2 separate regions of the Homo sapiens genome follow, and region 2 is linked to region 1. The links are contacts of gene promoters, found by promoter capture Hi-C in blood cells and fetal thymus (Javierre and others, 2016). All regions are on one chromosome and are shown on one strand. Each heading gives the region's core, a stretch centred on a gene start or on the middle of the fragment in contact. The rest is flanking DNA. Distances are from core to core; before and after follow the strand shown. Region 1 holds the start of TMED9 (transmembrane p24 trafficking protein 9). Region 2 holds the start of N4BP3 (NEDD4 binding protein 3).

Region 1 (5,740 bases), core at 1-2,500:
GAGAGTCTGACATTAGGGTGGCAAGTGACTGACTGCTCTTGGGAAGGGCTTTCCTTTATAGCTTATGCCCTTTCAACTTTTTTGGTGTGAGTTGTTTTTTGGGGGGTTCTTTTTTGTTTTTGTTTTTGAGACAGAGTCTCACTCTGTCGTCCTGGCTGGAGTGCAGTGATGCTATCTCAGCTCACTGCAGCCTCAGCTTCCCAGGTTCAAGCAATTATCGTGCCTTAGCCTCCCAAGTATCTGGTATTAGAGGTGTGCGCCACCACACCCGGCTCATTTTTTTTTTTTTTTTTTTTTGTATTTTTACTAGAGACGGGGTTTGCCAGACGGAGGTTGCCCAGGCCGGTCCTGAACTCCCGGCCTCAAGTGATCCACCCGCCTCGGCATCCCAAAGTGCTGGGATTACAGGCAAGAGCCACCACACCCCGCCATGAGTTTTTTAACGAAAAGTGACAGAAGGTGAGAGCTGAAGGGTTTTGCCGTTCGTTTTAATATCCTTACTTGGGAAGATTAAAAGCTGCTCATTTTGTGGGGAAAGTATCATGTTCTGTGAAATCTTAAAGTCTAGATGACTTTAAGAGTTGACAAAACTCTTTGATTTTTATCACCACAATTAATCCGCCCATTTCACAGACCGGGCGGGGTCTGCAAGTCAGCAGGATATTCCCACAACATCAACTGTCTCTCCCACTTTAGCAGATGCAGGAACTAGAAGAGGAAGTACCGGAGCCCGCCTAGCTGAGAGGCTGGCGGAGAGGAGGGGGGCGGTTGGCTCACCTTGTCCTCTGGGTCCTTCACCTCCACAAACATGCCAAGCCCCGGGGTGGCCGGCTGGTACTCCTCCCGCTGCTTGTCATACAGCTGCGTCCGGTAGTTTCCTTGAGGGAAGCAGGGCGAGCCCAGGTCAGAGGAGCGCGAGGTGGCATGGGTTCCGCGACCGCCTGGGCACGGCGAGGCCGTCTCCTCCCGGCTCTAGAGAGCTGACTGTCTCGCATCCCCCGCCCCAAGACCACGGTCACGTTCCAAACTCGCCCCTTCCTCCCCGCCCCCGCACCTATGACCATGGTCTCGTCCGGGATCTCCTCAATAAAGCACTTCTTCTCCGTCTCTCCGATGTGAAAGTAGAGCGCGCTTCCGCGCGTCGCCAGCCACAGCACCAGCAGGAGGGTCCGCATCACTCTACCCAGCCCGGTTCCGGGCCGGGGCCGGACGAGCAGCACGCCCAGCTCCACAGCCATCTTGCTCCACCTGCCTGCGCAGCCGCAGCCGGCCGCGCCACGTCGCCCTGCCGCCGCCGCGGTGCCTGCCGGGACCGCGAGTTCCGCCGGGTGGACCACAAATCCCGAGATGTCCCGCGGCCCTGGCGCGGCAGTACCTGATTGGGGCGCGGCTTTTACCTGAGAGAGAGCGGGTGCCCTAGAATAAAAACTTATTTCCGTTGACTCTCTTCATGGCCTGGCAACTGACGATGGTTACCAGCTTTTCATAGATGAAACTGAGGTCGTTTGTTTGAGGTTGCGGAGCGAATTGCGAACAGAGACAGGATTCGAACCTAGGATCCCTGACTTTCCTTGGCACAGCATCTACCAGTCTTGATTTGCTTCTACCTTTAAAAATGAATTTAAAGAGAACGACCAAATAATGCACAAATGTATTATCAAAAAAGATTAAAAGAAATAAAAGGCAAGGTCTCCCATTACCACTTCTTTGTCCTCATACCCTGTCCACTCCTAAATCGGGTGTTACCCTCTCAAGCATTTCTCCGATCACACACACACACAAACACACACACAGCCTCTGCTGCCAGATCCCAACTGCAATGGCTCGTTACTAGCAATTCTACAGAAATAGAAAGGATCATAAGAGAGTACTATGAGCAAATATAAGCCAACAAATTGGATAACGTAGATGAAATGGACAAATTCATAGAAATGCAAAACTGACTCAGAATAGATAATATAATCTGAATAAACCTATAACTAGTGAGGAGATTGAATCAGTAATTTAAAAAAAATCATCCTTACTTAATATAGTTAAGATGTCAATACTATCCAAAGCAATCTACAGATTTAATGCAATTCCTGTCAAAATCCCAATGACATTTTTTGTAGAAACAGAGAAACTCATTCTACAATTCATATACTCTCAAGGGATTTCGATTAGCCAAAACAATCCTGAAAAATAAGAATAAAGCTGAAGAACTCACACTTCCTGATTTCAAAACTTACTTCCAAGCTTCAGTCATCAAGACAGTGTGGTACTGGCATATAGACAGACATATAGACCAATGGAATACAATAGAGAGCCCCAAGATATGCCCTCCCATATATGGTCAAATAATTTTTAACAAGGAGACCAAGCCCATTCAATGCGGGGAGGAGGGACAGTCTTTCTAACAAATGGTGCTGGGAAAACTGGATATCCACATGCAAAAAAGTGAAGGTGGTTCCTTCTCTAACACCATAGATAAAAATTCACCCAAAAAGACCCACAACTTTTAAAATCCCAAAGCATAAAACTCATAGAAAACATATGGCAAAGGGTTTACCACATCGGATTTGGCAACAGACTTCCTGGATATGACACTAAAGGCACAGGCAACAAAAGAAAAAATAGACAAATTGGACTTTATGAAAATTAAAACATTTTGTGCATCAAAAGACTCTGTAGCAGAGTAAAGAGGCAACCCACAGAATGGAAGAAAATATTTGCAAATCATATATCTGACAAAGGATTAATATCCAGAATATGCAGAGACTCCTAAAACTCAGCAACAAAATAAGAACAATCTCATTCAAAAACCACAACAAAGGGCTTGAATAGACATTTCTCCAGTGATCAACAAGTGGCCAGTGAGCACATGAAAAGATACTCAACATCACTAATCATTAGAGAAACACAAATCACAATGAGATAAAGAACAATGAGATACTACGTCATATACCCATTAAGATGGCCACTAGAAAAAAAAAAAGGAAAAGAAAGAAACTACAAGCATTGGCAAGGATGTGGGGAAATTGAACCCTTGTGCACTGTTGGTGGGAATGTAAAATGGTACAGACACTGTGGAAAACCGTATAATGATTCCTCAAAAAAGTGAAAATAGGCTGGGCATGGTGGCTTACGCCTATAATTCCAGCGCTTTGGGAGGCAGAAGCAGGAGGATTGCTTGAGCCCAGGAGTTCGAGACCAGTCGGGGCAACATGACGAAACCCCATCTCTACAAAAAATACAAAAATTAACTGGATCTGGTGGCATGCGCCTGTAGTCCCAGCTACTCAGGAGGCTGAGGCAAGAGGATTGCTTGAGCCTGGGAGGTCAAGGCTACAGTGAGCTGTGATCATGCCACTGCACTCCAGCCTGGGTGACAAAGCAAGACACTGTCTCAAAATAAATAAATAAAAATAGAATTACCATATGATTCAGCAAGTCCATATCTAGAGATATCCTCAAAATAATTAAAAGTAGGGTCTCAAAGAGATATTTGTACACATATGTTCACAGCAGCATTATTCACAAGCAAAAAAAAAAATGGAAGCAACCCAGTTCTTCATCAGTAGATGAATAGATAAGCAAAATATGGTACATCCACACAATGGAAATCCTTTCAGCCTTAGAAAGGATGGGAATTCTGACACATGCTACAACATAGATGAATCTTGAAGAAACATTACGCTAAGTGGACTAAGCCAGACATAAAATGATAAATACTGGGTAATTCCATGTATATGAGGTACTAGAGTCGTCAAAATCACAGAGACAGAAAGCAGAATGGTGGTTGCCAGGGACTGGAGGACAGGGAGAGTGAAGTTATTGTTTAATAGGTATAGAGTTTCAGTTTTCCAAGATAAAAAGAGTTCTGTAGATGGATGGTGGTGAGAGTTCTATGGCAATATAATGTACTTAATCCCACTGAAGTGTACAGTTAAAAACAGTCAACTTTGGCCGGGCACGGTGGCTCACGCTTGTAATCCCAGCACTTTGGGAGACCGAGGCGGGAGGATCACAAGGTCAGGAGATCGAGACCTGCCTCACCAACATGGAGAAACCCTGTTTCTACTAAAAATACAAAATTAGCCTGTGTGGTGGCACATGCCTGTAATCCCAGCTCCTCGGGAGGCTGAGGCAGGAGAATTACTTGAACCTGGGAAGCAGAGGTTTGGTGAGCTGAGAAGGCACCTTTGCATTCTAGCCTGGGCAACAAGAGTGAAACTCCATCTCAAAAAAAAAAACAAAAGTGTGGTAGAATGCTCCAGTGTAATCATCTGGGCCTTGAAATTTCCTTTTGGGGAGTGTTTTAATTATGAATTAAATTTCCTTAATAGCTATAGGGCTATTCAAAGTATCTATTTCATACTAGTAAGTTGTGATAGTGTGTGCTTTTTGAGTAATTGATCTATTTTGCCTAAATTGTTACATTTATGTATGTAGAGGTTCAGTCAGGATGGTGGGGAAAATTATACAATAAAACACAAAACTTGGAAGGCCAAAAGGTTTTTGCTTAGCTTCAGATAGTTTGGCTGAAAGCGGCCTAATCCTCTTTGAGCCATAGCAAGGGTAAGTAACATAGGAATGTAGAGGAGTCTATCTAAATAGCTTGTTTACTCATGTGGTTCTAAAAGTAACCTTTAATCATTCGCGGGCAGGATGGCGCTCTGGGGGAGGCAGGGGAAGGCGACCAGGTTGATTACCCTCTAATGGTGTTTACTTGAGACTTTTGCTGTGTTTAATGTGTGCTAAGTAAATGACGAGAAGGCCAGCGAGTAGGAGGCGGGGAGTCGGGGCCACGTTGCAAATGTACAGCACTCTCCTGGGAGTCTGTAGGGGGCCTGGACAATCGGCCTGACTGACAAGCAGAATATCTGTGTCAGTGTACATTATTCATCTGTCGTTGAGTTGAGGTCTGCAGCACACACCCCCACATATGTATGTAAAGTTGTCCGTGGAATTATTCTCTTATGATCCTTCTGATGTGGGCAGGGTCTGTACTGATGTCACCCGTTTCATTACTGATACTGGTGATTTATGTCTTCTTTTTTCTGTATCAGTCTTGTAAGAGGTTTGTCAATTTTATCAGTCTTTTCAAAGAATCAGCTTTTTGTGTCATTGATTTTCTCTGTTGCTTTTCTGTTTTTAATTTCATTGGTTTCTGCTTGTTATTTTTTCCTCTTCTGCTTGCTTTGGATTTAGTTTGTTCTTCTTATTCTAGTGACTTGAAGTAGAAGTTTGTGGGGTTTTTTTGTTGTTTTGTTTTGTTTTGATTTTTGAGACAAGGTCTCACTCTGTCACCCAGGATGGAGTACAGTAGCAACATCTCGGCTCATCGCAGCCTCCACCTCCCAGGTTCAAGCGATTCTCCTGCCTCACCCTCCCAAGTAGCTGGGATTACAGGCATGTGTCACCATGCTCTGCTAATTTTTGTATTTTTAGTAGAGATGGGGTTTCACCATGTTGCCCAGGCTGGTCTCGAACCCCTGACCTCAGGTGATCTGCCCTCTTCAGCCTCCCAAAGTGCTGAGATTATAGGCATGAGCCACTGCACCCGGCCAGAAGTAGTTTAGATTATTGATTTGAGACTCCTCTTTTAGTTAGGATTTTGGTTGTACCTAGCCAGAGGAATGGAGAAAAGTATGTCTATATCATCTTCTCAGAAGCAGAAGTCCTAAACTATCAGGTATGTTTTAAAGAACAAAATTATTACAAATAAAATTAAATCCTTATTCCCTCCATCCCTTTCCAG
Region 2 (5,740 bases), core at 1,078-3,577, 520 kb before region 1:
CTGAACACGGAGAGGAATTGCTTTCGGACCAATCCTTGGTGGAGATGGAAGACACAGCTGCCCTGGCCAGGAAGCAAAGAAGGAGAGGACGCGCTTTCTTTGAGGGGGGCGTCCCAGAGCCTGTTGGTGCCCTTTTGGGTCACGCCAAAGGGCACTATCACATCCTCACAAGACACACAGGAGATGAGTTCTGTCATCCCCCACTTCACAAGAGGAAACTGAGGTTCAGAAAGTGAAGTAACACGCCTAAGGTCACGTTCAGCCGCAGGGGAGAAAGCACACAGGCTCCAGGATTAGAAGTCCTCTCGGATCCCACCTTGCATCTCCTCTGGGGTGGGACATTCCAGTCCCCACATGGGCAGGAGTGCTGCCTGCCCTGGCTACAGTCAGCCCCTCCTGAGCCCTGGCCCCAGGGAAAGGTCCCACCACCTGCTGGGGGATCAGCTCTGCTAAGGGGCGTGTCTGCAGCTGCCCCTAAGGAATGGGACTGGAATGTCCCAGCTCCAAAAGGGGGGGGTAGTAGGCAAGGGGGGCCCAGAGAGGGGCTGGGAGAGGCTGGCCCACCCCATCCCCTCTGTGACAGACACTTGAGGCAGAGACAGGGGCTAAAGCCTGCGGAAGTGGTGCTTAGTATCACCATATAGTGCTTCACGGCTGCACCGCAGTCTACAGTTTTTTCTCAGCCCTTCTATTTCATTATCTCATTTCATCTCCACAATAGCCTCGTGGGGGCAAACAGGACAGTAATTACCCTCACGCCATTTTACAGATCGGGAAACTGAGGCCTCGGAAGGCGAGGTGAGTTATCCAAGATCCCACAGTGAGAAGCAATCTCAACTCCCTGGGCAAGGTCCTTTCTACCTCAGCAGGTTGTCCTAAGCCAGGGGTCACGGGTTCCCCTCCATGGGCACACACTGCTGTGTATGTATTGCATATATGTCTGCCCAGCCCTCCATGCCTGTTTCTCCCAAGGACACTTGCAACCAGGCTGCCCTAGACTGCGGTCCACCAGGCCTGGAATCCCTCCTGCTGCCCCCCAGGTCAGGAAGAAATAGAGGAAACCTGCCTCATGGGGACTCCGAGTCGCTATGCTAGCTCTAGAGGCGGTGGCAGAGGCAGGCTGGCCGCATTCATTCACAGTCTGGCACATGCACACCACACGCTGCCAGCCGGTAGAGAAGCCCTGCCTGGGAGGGCCCTGGGAGGAGGCTGATAACCGCGCCCAGGATGGCCTCCTGCGTCCGCTCCCTCCCGAGGACAGCCAGGCCCAATCTGTTCCTATGTGGTTGGGGTCGGGGGGTGGCCCAGTGGGAGGCAACGGGTCTCAGTTCTCTTTCTGGATACAGCCAGGGCCCTGATTTCGGCTTGTCCCCAGGCCAGCCCTCACTTGGGCCAAAGGCTGTGGCCGGGACTGGACCGGGTGCTCTGGCGGTCAAGACCTAGGAATGTCCCCTACCCGCAGACCCGCAGCTGCAGCCTGGTGGACCGGCAGGGGGTTGGGGGATAAAGGAGGTGTGGGAGGAAGCGAGAGATCTCATGGGGAAGTCAGAGGGGCAAACGAGGTTGCATCCCCACGGAATTTGTGTCAGGAAAGCAGGGGTGAAGGCGAGGGTTCCCCAAAGCTGCGGGAGGTCCCGGAGCTACCTGGGGGGCGGGGTGGGAGGCGCGTCTCCTCCTGGCCCCTCCCTGAGGCCTGCCGGGAGCGGCTGGGCCGGGGGGCGGAGGCCGAGGTCAGACGCCGGCGCCAAGGACGCCTGCCCCACCCAGCCGTGGCGCAGGGGTCCCGCGCGCTGCTCCCTGGAAAGCGCGTTTGCAGGGGTTGGGGAGAGCAAGGTAGCCTGCCGCCTGCCCCTCCAGCGGAGCATCGGGGTCGGTCCCCGATCCGGTGCCTCGGTGACCGGGAGCAGGGGACACCTGGGCGCACGCCGCACCTTGCCACCCCCGCCCATCTCTCAGACGGGAGCCTCGGCCAGCGGGACAGCAGCTTTGCCAAGGACGCCCGAAAACAAGACCTTGGCGACCCGCCCCACCCCTCCCCACCCCCCGAGTCCAGCCCGGGTCCCCAGCCCCTCGCGCGCCCCACTTACCATGGTGGCGACGCGCTCGCCGGCCCGCGGCTCCGCAGCCCTTGCGCGTCGCAGCTCCCCCGCGCGGATTTGAACCCTCCTGCAAGGCGTCGGCTCGGGCCGGGACTGCGTGCCGGGTCGGAGCGGCGGAGCGGCAGGCGCCGGGAAAACGCGGGCGGGCGCCGGCGCCGGAGCCGGATTGGCGAGGGAGGGACGCGCTCCGCGGCGCTCGATCGCCTGCCCCAAAGGCGGAGGGAAAACCCGGCCTGACTCACCGGCGCGCGGCAAGCCCACAGCCCGGCCCCGGCCCCCGGATGTGGGGGGCGGGGCCGCCTACCCGCGAGCCAACCTGGGCCCCGCCCGGCCCCGACCGCGCCCCCGGCCCTGACCCGCAGAGGCGCCGCACGGCGGTGGCGGGCGAAACCTGGACCGGCTGCGCCTCGCGTCGCTGCCTCCTTGAGCGCCCCGGCTCGTTCCCGAGGGGTGGGCAGCCCCGAGCGCGGCCCACGCCCCAGAGAGCGCACAGCGCCCCCGCTTCTCCTCCTCCGCCGTTCGCCTCGCCCGCCTCCTCTAAGGAAGAGGCGCGTGAGGTCCCTCACCTCCCTAATTGTAGCCGCCTCCTCTCCGGAAAACCTGATTTCCCCCCTTTGGGGATGAACCACAGTAGTACTTTGAGAAGTGAAAAGATTTTACCCCACGACTCTGGCTGAATTGGGCACAGAGTTATTTTCTTTTTGCCTCCAAAGTATTCTAGGGGCAGCAAAATCAGGTGCCTTCAGGGGCCAGAAAAATTACGCAAATGAGTCGTGAGCTTCCTACTAAGACAGTAGGAAGACATGGAAACAGACACAGACACGTAAAGGAGTCATATTCGAAAAATTAAAACACCGTTTCTAATTCAAAAGTTAAGCATAGAGTTACCATATGATCCGGCAATTATAGTCCTCAAACAAGTAATGTTCTTGGCAGTACTAGTCACAATAGTCAAAGAGCCAAAAGGTGGAAACAGCCCAAACTAACAATTGATGAGGGTGTAAGCAAACAATGGTAGATCCATTCAGTGGAATATTATTCAGCCATAAAAAAGAAATGAACGCCATGTGATGACTCATGTCTGAACTCTCCCAGCACTTTTGGAGGCCAGGAGTTCAGGAACAGCCTGGGCAACTCACAAAACTCCATCTCTATCTTAAAAAAAAAAAGACCTGATGTGGTGGCTCACCCCTGTAATCCTAGCATTTTGGGAGGCCGAGGCAGGCGGCTCACTTGAGGTCAGGAGTTTGAGACCAGCCTGGCCAACATGGCGAAATTCTATCTCTACCAAAAACACCAAACATTAGCCAGGCATGGTGGAGCGAGCCTGTAATCCCAGCTACTCGGGAGGCTAAGGTAGGAGAATTGCTTGAACCCAGGAGGCAGAGTTGCAATGAACGGAGATTGTGCCACTACACTCCAGCCTGGATGATGGCGTAAGCCTGTCTCAAAAAAAAAAAGAAAGAAAAGAAAAGAAAAAGAGGAATGAAACACTGATGATACCTGCTACAACATGGATAAACCTCCAAAACATGGCAAGTGAAAGAAACCAGACACAAAGCCCACATGTGTTAATGATGCCATTTATAATAAGTAAATCCAGACAAACAGAAAGCAGATTAGAGCCAGAGGCTGTGGGGAGAGAGAAAGGCAGAGTGATTGCCTAACAAGCATAGGGTTTCCTTCTGGGATGAGGAAAATGTTTTGGAGCCTGACAGAGGTGGTGGTTGCACAACGTTATGAATATACAAATGTCATTGAATTGTTTGCTTTAAAACGGCTAATTTTATGGTATGCACATTTTACCTCAATTAAAAAACATCTTGTCACTTGTGGAACAGATTTGGTCTACGGCCCACAAATTTGCAACCCCTTGTGTTCTATGCTGTTCTTACCAATTCTTGCTAGGACAGCATAGAACCTCTAGGAAGAACTTCTGGCCAGGCATGGCGGCTCACGCCTGTAATCCCAGCACTTTGGGAAGACGAGGTGGGCAAATCAATTAAGGCAAATGATTTGCCTGCCTCAGCCTCTCAGTGTGCTGGGAGTACAGGCGTGAGCCACCATGCCTGGCTGAAAGAACTTTTTTTTTGAGATGGAGTCTTGCTCTGTCGCCCAGGCTGGAGTGCAGTGGTGCGATCTCAGCTCGCTGCAAGCTCCGCTTCCCGGGTTCACGCCATTCTCCTGCCTCAGCATCCCAAATAGCTGGGACTACGGGTGCCCACCACCACACTCGGCTAATTTTTTGTATTTTTAGTGGAGATGGGGTTTCACCATGTTAGCCAGGATGATCTCGATCCCCTGACCTCGTGATCCACCCCCCCTTGGCCTCCCAAAGTGCTAGGATTACAGGCATAAGCCACTGCGCCCGGCAACTTTTTTTTTTTTTTGAGATGGAGTTTCACCCTTGTTGCCTAGGCTGAAGTGCAATGGCGTGATCTCAGCTCACTGCAACCTCCCCCTCCCAGGTTCAAGCGAGTCTTCTGTCTCAGCCTCCCGAGTAGCTGGTTGGCACAGGTGTGTGCCACCATGCCCGGCTAATTTTGTATTTTTAGTAGAGACGGGGTTGGTCAGGCTGGTCTTGAACTCCCGACCTCAGGTGATCCACCTGCCTCGGCCTCCCAAAGTGCTGGGATTACAGGCGTGAGCCACCACGCCCGGCCAGAATTTCTAATAGAACTGCCAGACTTCAGAATACTTGTCTAAGAAAACTCATTAATAGCTGCTGTGGGTCTCAGCCCTTGAGGAGCCAGTCTGGTAGGGTTACTCACTGGGACAGATAAAGTTTCAGAGCAAGAACCTGTTTGGCTGTTTGGGGGACCCAAGGAAAGGCCTCACTGGAGCAATGGTTTTTGAGATGGTCCTGGAAGCATTTCCACTGAGGAGTGTTCCCAGCAGAGCAGATAGCAGGGCTAGAGAAGGCAGGGCACGTTCAGCTTGCTAGCAAGGTCCAAGCCCTGGGTGGGAAAGGTTAGTGGTGGGAAGGGACGAAGGTGGCAACCGAGAGCAGACCCAGAGAAGCCTCTTGAAGTGGGCGCTGGGAGCCTCCGAAGCATTGAGAGAGAGGAGCTTGTGCACGCAGCTGGACGTGGGGCCTGTGAGGTGGCACAGGCAGGCAGGGAGGTCGGGTCCCCTGGGTCTCTAGGGAAAGAAATGGGGCCAAGGAGGACCTGGAAGCTGGAAGCTGCCGAGAAGGTGTTCATTCTGTCAACTGAGTGGGAGAGACAGTGATAGAGATGTTTATGAGAGGGTTTGAATGAAGGTTCTTATAAGAATCCACTTGCAAGAAATGGCATGAGGAAGAGAGAGAGAGGTCACAGCTAAGTTCTGATGAAAACTCAGATTCTGGGTTGGGTGCAGTGGCTCACGCCTGTAATGCCAACGCATTAGGAGGCCGAGGTGAGAGCATTGCTTAAGCCCAGGAGTTCCCTGGGCGACATAGCAAGACCCCATCTCTATAAAAAAATAAAAAATTAGCCAAGCCAGTGGTGCCTATAGTCCCAGCTACTCGAGAGGCTGAGGCAAAAGGATCCCTTGAGCCTAGGAATCAGAGGCTGCAGTGAGCTATGATCGAACACTGCACTCCAGCCTAGGTGACAGAGCAAGACCCTGTCTTTAAAAAAAAAAAGGCCGGGCACGGT

What was found. The method cuts DNA at HindIII sites, captures the fragments that hold promoters and counts their contacts. A CHiCAGO score of 5 or more calls a contact.
Region 2: a contact is called between the fragment with the promoter of N4BP3 here and the fragment with the promoter of TMED9 in region 1, in 8 of 17 cell types (naive CD8 T cells, non-activated CD4 T cells, total CD4 T cells and 5 more). The highest score is 11.5, in naive CD8 T cells.

What each region holds. Positions count from the first base shown.
Region 1 is chr5:177,587,713-177,593,452 of GRCh38, reverse strand. It overlaps TMED9 (transmembrane p24 trafficking protein 9), which reads right to left and starts at 1,250. Exons shown (of 5, transcript NM_017510.6): 1 at 1,055-1,250; 2 at 778-878. The coding sequence starts at 1,238. RefSeq lists an enhancer at 1-45. The HindIII fragment of the contact is 2,414 bases long and covers 1-2,237 here.
Region 2 is chr5:178,110,119-178,115,858 of GRCh38, reverse strand. N4BP3 (NEDD4 binding protein 3) reads right to left here and starts at 2,327. Exons shown (of 5, transcript NM_015111.2): 1 at 2,088-2,327. RefSeq lists silencers at 518-627, 1,238-1,287, 1,638-1,957, 2,038-2,587 and enhancers at 1,098-1,157, 686-1,199. The HindIII fragment of the contact is 16,661 bases long and covers 1-5,740 here.